2 separate regions of the Homo sapiens genome follow, and region 1 is linked to region 2. The links are contacts of gene promoters, found by promoter capture Hi-C in blood cells and fetal thymus (Javierre and others, 2016). All regions are on one chromosome and are shown on one strand. The core of a region is centred on a gene start or on the middle of the fragment in contact, and the rest is flanking DNA. Distances in the headings are between cores, read along the strand shown. Region 1 overlaps UGP2 (UDP-glucose pyrophosphorylase 2). Region 2 holds the start of RAB1A (RAB1A, member RAS oncogene family).

Region 1 (3,270 bases), core at 45-2,544, 1.3 Mb before region 2:
GTCGCTTTCCTGGATAGTGGCTGTAAGTGATAAAACAGGATTTTTGGCTGCTAATTAATCCTTGTTCTCTTTTCCTGGTCTGTGTCAAGGTACCTGTGCGTGCACGCAGACGGGAAGGGCTGGGGAAGCGGGAGGACTGAGAAAAGCCGGGTGGGTTTTGCCGGGACTGTTGGGGAAGCTTTAGTGTTCTCCGCTTCTACTTCGTTTGTGTGTACGTGGTTTGCGTCTCAGATTCACTTATTGCGAAACTGGGAGTAGCCCGAAGAAGCTGGAGGTCATTTCAGCTGGAGAAATGACTTTGCTGCATTGCTGTGTTTATTTTTTCCTTTTTTGAACTATGAAAAGATGATTAAGGTTCCTTTGAAGTTTGAAAACTGCTCTCTAAATTCCACATGTGTATTTAAAAAGGGTTAGGGAATGCCTCAACTGAGATTATCAGTAACGTGTATATGAATGCATGTGTGTACGGTGTACTCACTGAAATTGGTGCTGGCATAAACCTTTGACACCAGTTTGTAGCATGAGATTTGCCTTCTGGTATGCAAGTAAACTCTTTCCTTGTAGACTCCAGTGTGTGAAAGCTTCAGCCATCTTGATGAACACACAGCTAGTAAAGTTCACAAACACTTATTATGCTTCCTGATAAATGTAGGTGTACTTTTGGAAAAAAAAAGTTGTGTCAGTAATGGCCATCATTTGACCCTGGGAATAAAAATGCCCTACTGAGTTCTACATCGCTTTATTAACTCTTCTTTAAATTTTGTGTAGTAGATTAAAGTAAGAGAATTCGACTGCCTGTGTTATTATCGAAACAGATCGAACGCTATGCTTGCCTTTAGCGCTAAGCTCAGAAATGTCACTTGTTATTAGACTTTCAAATTCATGTTATACCTTATATGTGGTAAGAGATGCTTATGTTCTGATTGAGTAAATGTCTTATTCAAGAATAGAAAGGCAGAACTGTTAGAAACGTACTGGTTTTGTAATAACAATATTCAGTTACCATAAAGGCGGTATTTTGCAAGAATATGCTAGGTAAAAGTGGACAAGTTACTTCTCTTTAAAAGTTAGAAATATTAATAAACCCAAGGTGTTCCATGTAGAGTTATGCTTTAGAATAGGTTGCAGAATTGGCAAGCATTGACTGATTTCACAGCCTTTGCTGTAATGCCAACTTGTCCTCAGAAGATTCAAAATCAAGTGGTAAGAGTTGCTGTGTATGTTTGTCATTACTTTGTCATCCACTTTTTTTAAAAAAACTTTTTATATTTTGGAATACTTCAGGATTTATAGAAAAGTTGCACATTTGTCAAAACTAAGAAATTAACATAGGTACATTACTGTTAACTAAAGGCTTTGTTCAGATTACAGTTCCCATGATTCACTCTAAGATACCAGATTGCACTTAGTTGCCAGCCACTTTTTTTCTTTTTTCTTTTTCTTTCTTCTTTTTTTGTCAAGGTCTTACTGTGTTGTCCACGCTGGAGTACAGTGGGTATTCACAGGAACAATCATAGTGCACTACAGCCTCAAGCCCCTGGGCTCAAGCTGTCCTCCTGCGTTAGCCTCCTGAGTAGATGGGACTTAGGCATATGCCATAGCCTATAGTTGTCATACATTTTTACTTTAAATGGTAGTTTTCCTTTTAAGATGGGCAGTTTTGCACAAGAATATGACACCTCCTCAAAATTTTTTGACATGAATGTGCTCCTGTTTATCATTGTTTAAATTTTGTACAGTGTGAGCCCTCTATATGTTTAACTCTGCTGCTGTTGTAAATGATAAACCTAATTGGCAAATGACACAGCTGTCTCCACAAAAGAGCTTTCAAGTGTAAGGGTTGGAAATTTTGGTTTTGATTATTTTTTTAAGCAAATCAAATTCTTTGATCTTTGCTGCAGAAAATATTGATATTTCCAATCACTGGCACTTAGTAGTTCATGCTCCTTCATAGGGGAAAGAGTTAACAAATGTTAGGTTTCTAACTTTTTTTTTTCATGGGTTTTCTCAAGCTTTATAAGAGTCCTGAGATGTAGATTTTTTATCCTGCCCTTACAGGTGAGGAAAGTTAAGTATCTTGTCCAAAGTTCACAGCTTGTATAAAGCACTGATTGATTGATAGATTGATTTTGAGGCAGGGTCTCACTTTGTTGCCAGGCTGGAGTGCAGTGGTGCGATCACAGCTCACTGCAGCCTTGATCTCCTTGGCTTAAGCAATTTTCCCACCTCAGCCCCCTGAGTAGCTGGGACTACAGGTGCACACCACCATGCCTGGCTACTTTTCTCCTTTTTTAAAGAGACAGGCTTTCCCTATGTTTCTCAGGCTGGTCTCAAACTCCTGGTCTTAAGCGATCTTCTAGCCTCAGCCTCCCAGAGTACTGGGATTACAGGTGTGAGCTGCTAGTGCACAGCACTGAAATTCTTACATGAGTGTGTCTAAAACCCTAGTCCTTCCCGACATCTTTTGTTGCTTCTAACATTAACAACTGTGGAAATGGCCTGTTTCTCCAGCTAGACTGTCAGTTCCCATTGGGCAAAGATAATATTATATCCTTGGGAGAAATACAGTGTTTTGTAAGTGGACGATACTCTAAATGAATTTGTCATGGATGACAAATGAGAAGCCCACAGCTTAGCATTTTCCATCTACTATTTAGTAGCTTATCTTACATTTTTGGTTGTAGTTTTTATAACACCTCTTAGATTATATAAATGTTGAGAAAGATGGAAAGGTACAGACTTAGATTTGAATACCGTTACTAGCAGGTGATCTTAGGCACATACCTTTCAAACCTCAGTTTCTTCTTAGATAAAAATTGGGCAGTAATGCTTATGCCTCAGGGTTATTGAGAGGCTGAAATGAGATGAACTATGTGGATGTGCTAGGCACATATTAGGTAGCCAGTCAATTTTACTTTTCTTTCCTGAAATGATGGTGGCCTTTCAGATAGCATTGCCACCCAAAATATAACCACATGTCATCAACAGAACTAAAAGAAAAAAGGCAGGTATGAAAGTTCTTTATTTTCCTATTCCAGGTTTCATGTTCAGGCCTAGGTGTTATTATGTTAAAAAAAAAAAAAAAAAGTGCCGGGGTGGGGCAAGGTAACGTTTGGACAATATGAATTTGGTTGTAGTTTTTATAACCTCTCAACTTGAGTACAAGTTGGTGACGGTTTTCTTCTGAATACAGTGAACAAAATTTTTTTTGAGCTCTTACTATGTATGATGTACTGTATTAGGATTTCTGGCATATCCCTTATGGTAGGC
Region 2 (3,360 bases), core at 153-2,652:
CAAACCAGCAAATAAACTCAACTTTTACAACAAATACTGATGTTCCCCCATCCCTCAAAGGCCTTTGACACTGAAAAGGAATACCAATTCGGTCTCTTCCAATTATTCATTACTTTACATGCATGTAAACTGTAGAGGAAATTTTTAAAGGGCCATTGAGGAGAGCCCAACAAACTCTACCCAAGGGAAGTGAACACCAGTTCCCAGGAAAGGTGCCAGGTGTGTCACATCTGCTGTGGTGACTTCTTGAGTAAGCAAGAAAAAGAAATGCATTAACTTTTCATGACACGTCATGGAACCTCATTCCCTATCTGCAAGCATCCAAGCAGGTAATCCAAAACCTACATACAGATCTATCATAGGTCCCGTTCGTTTCTCTTTCAACTTGACAGCAAGCTTCCTTTAATCTGCGAGTATCAAAAAGACATTTCTTGGCTTTAGTTTTTTTTTTTTCCCTTGACCCACAGAAGACAAAATGACTTAGGTGTCCTCTTTAAAAAAAAAAAAAACAAAATTCTCACAAATGCCCAGGTTTTTATAGGAGGGCAATGGACCCGGCGAGCTCTTAAACAACTCCTCCAAGACACAACTCAAAAAGAGAACTAATAAATGTTCAGTTGCTTCTCACCATCTACTCATTCCCCTCAATCCCACGCAGTCCCGAAAAGCATCCATATTACCTGAAACCTGGCGGGGAGGATGGAAGGAGAGAGAGCCAACAAGCTCAGGATTTACAAGTAAAGCTGGTTTCTACCCCGAAGATCCTGACAGCTCCGCAGAGTGCGGGCGCAGGGTCTGACAGTGCCCTCTAGAAGGGCTCTCCCACCCCATCCCCTCCCCTTAGAGACAAGTCCTCCTTCAAAAGTCACTGCCTCCGAGAGAAGATACCCCTTCACACCGCCCCAGGCCCCTCGGCAGGCTTCCTCAGCACCCGCCCCGCAGTCAGGCCCTCTAACCTGACCCGGTCCAGGCCCGGGCGGCTCACCCCTCCGGCCCGACCCCTCCCCCGCGCGGCCGCCCCTCCGCGTCAGACAATGGGGCCCGACTCCCGGCCGCCAGCCTCTCCTGACCCATCACCCTCGCCTCACCCCAGCCGATGCCCCGACTTCTGCCCCAACCCTCCTCGACCCCTTTAAGATCCCCCAAGCTGGCCCACGGACCCAGCCGACCGGTGCTCTCCTGAACTCACTATTCGGGATTCATGCTGGACATGTCACTGCAGCTGCCGCCGCCGCCACCGCCGCCCTTGCTGCCGCAGCCGCCGCCCTGACTCTCCGCGCCACGGGTAATCGAAAGAAAGGAATGAGATAGGCTGTTCCGGGAGAGCAAACGTCTTCCCCTACTCCGTCCCCTAGAACACAATCAGCAGCCGCCGCCACTCAGCTATCGCTTCCACCCAAAATGGCCGCCGGCGAACCAGGAAATAGGGAAGCCTTAGACCGAGGGGCCTTTACACGGCCCAGAGGGCGGCCGCACCGCCTGGCATGCCGGGAAAGGGAGTCGCGAGCGCGGCTACGCGAGCTGAGGACAGACAGTGCGACGCAAGGCCAGGACTCAGCTTCCCGCCAAGCGCCGCGCCTCTGGGGCATGCGTACCTGAAGGGTTGTCGCCCGCCCCATTCCCCACTCCCTCACCTCCCCACCCTCGGCCCCTCCCTGCTCCCCTCCCCTCTGACTCGCTGGCTAGGACTTCGCTCGGACTCCCCCTGGCGGATTGGCTAAGGCCGAGCTGCCCTAGTGATGTCATCAGTGAGACGTGGCAGCCGGGCGAGTCAGCGCCCCACGGGGGAGGGGGCGGAGAGGGGCGGAGGGTGGTGCCGGCGGCCGACGGAGGCTGGGGGTCGGGGGAGGCAAGGGACCGGGGGGAGTGGTCAAACCGGAGGGACTGCCGGGGGTGCGGGGGCGGGGAGGGGGCCGGGGTACGAGCGTGTCGGCTCCTGCCTCCGTTGCGGCTGTTGCTGACCTGACCAGCTTGAGGCTTGCGCCACCCTGGTGGCGCTGGTTGGGGGCTGGTAGGAGGACGTCCGCTCTAAGAACAGAAGGGAAGTCAAGGGGCTCCCTGGACGGCACGGAGCGGTTCTTCTCGTCACTCACCCATCCCCACCTGGGTTCGGTCATCGTCCATTGTTGGCCCCGCGCACTACCATTTTCTTCTTAGATTTCTTCCCATTCTTACTGTGCCCCGCTCTTAACTCGTCAGCCTGGCTATTGCAGTAGTCTCCAAATGGACTCTACCTCTCTCTCTCCTCTCCGCCCCAGCCCATTTGCACACACAGTCGGATGTATCTTTCTGAGACAGCACCTGCATCGTGACCCCACAACCTTCAATGGCTCCACATCCCATGGATGGGAGGGACACAGCCCAGAGCCAGCCTAAAATCCAATTCCTACCTTCGTCCCGGCCTTCAGGTTGAATTGTAATGTATTATCTTTTAGTTGCTACTAACCCTGAGCCATTCTGCAAGACTGGAAAATAATAAGCAATAAAAATAGGCAATTCATCACTATATAGTGCCTACAATTTCTGGGAGTAATATTAACTCATTTTTAAAAAACCTATGGCCTTAACAGCTCTCTTTAATCAGCTCAGGAATTTAAATCTCCGCTAAACTTTAACACATTATCTTGAGTTATTTAATTACAAAGGGCATAGTGTAATACATTGTCCAAAGTTTATCTTCCAACTTCTAAGAACTAAGAAAATTGTCTCCTGAGACTTACTGCAGAATCACTTTAAATTCCTACAACGCCAAAATATAGAAAGAAGGCACTTATTTCTACCCATACACTAATTACACCCCTTAGCCCTCAAATTCTGCCATGGGCCTTAGTTGATGAACTTATCAAAAGTTACCCGAGTTTGGTTTCTGAAATGAACATGTTGGTTTCTGAAATGAACACGGTCACCACCCCAGGAATACCCTGAATGGTTCAGTAATAGGCACCAAAAAGTGTTCGTTACCCTGGACTCTAAAGCCCATTAAAAAAAAAAAAAGCTTATTTTGATTTCAAATAAAAACTCAGAAAACTGGCCAGGCTCGGTGGCTCATGCCTGTAATCTCAGGAATTTGAGAGGCCAAAACGGACAGATCACGAGGTCAGGAATTCAAGACCAGCCTGGCCAACATGGTGAAACACTGTCTCTACTAAAAATACAAAAATTAGCCAGGCATGGTGGCGCGTGCCTGTAATCCCAGCTACTCGGGAGGCTGAGGCAGGAAAATTGCTTGAACCCGGGAGGCGGAGGCTACAGTGGGCCGAGAGGCCACTGCACTCCAGCCTGGGCGACAGAGCAAGATTCTGTCTTGAGGGGAGAAAAAAAATCTCAGAAAACTGTGACCTGAGTCACTAGTAAAGGCAC

Evidence for each region. The method cuts DNA at HindIII sites, captures the fragments that hold promoters and counts their contacts. A CHiCAGO score of 5 or more calls a contact.
Region 1: a contact is called between a fragment that was not itself captured here and the fragment with the promoter of RAB1A in region 2, in 1 of 17 cell types (fetal thymus). The highest score is 6.5, in fetal thymus.

Annotation. Positions count from the first base shown.
Region 1 is chr2:63,842,450-63,845,719 of GRCh38, forward strand. All of the region lies in intron 1 of UGP2 (UDP-glucose pyrophosphorylase 2), which reads left to right. Among named protein-coding and RNA genes, the nearest start is that of UGP2, 2.2 kb to the left of the region's middle. The HindIII fragment of the contact is 1,431 bases long and covers 580-2,010 here.
Region 2 is chr2:65,128,704-65,132,063 of GRCh38, forward strand. It overlaps RAB1A (RAB1A, member RAS oncogene family), which reads right to left and starts at 1,403. Exons shown (of 6, transcript NM_004161.5): 1 at 1,190-1,403. The coding sequence starts at 1,212. RefSeq lists enhancers at 671-1,185, 1,182-1,441, 1,186-1,699 and silencers at 1,002-1,051, 1,552-1,901. The HindIII fragment of the contact is 2,599 bases long and covers 395-2,993 here.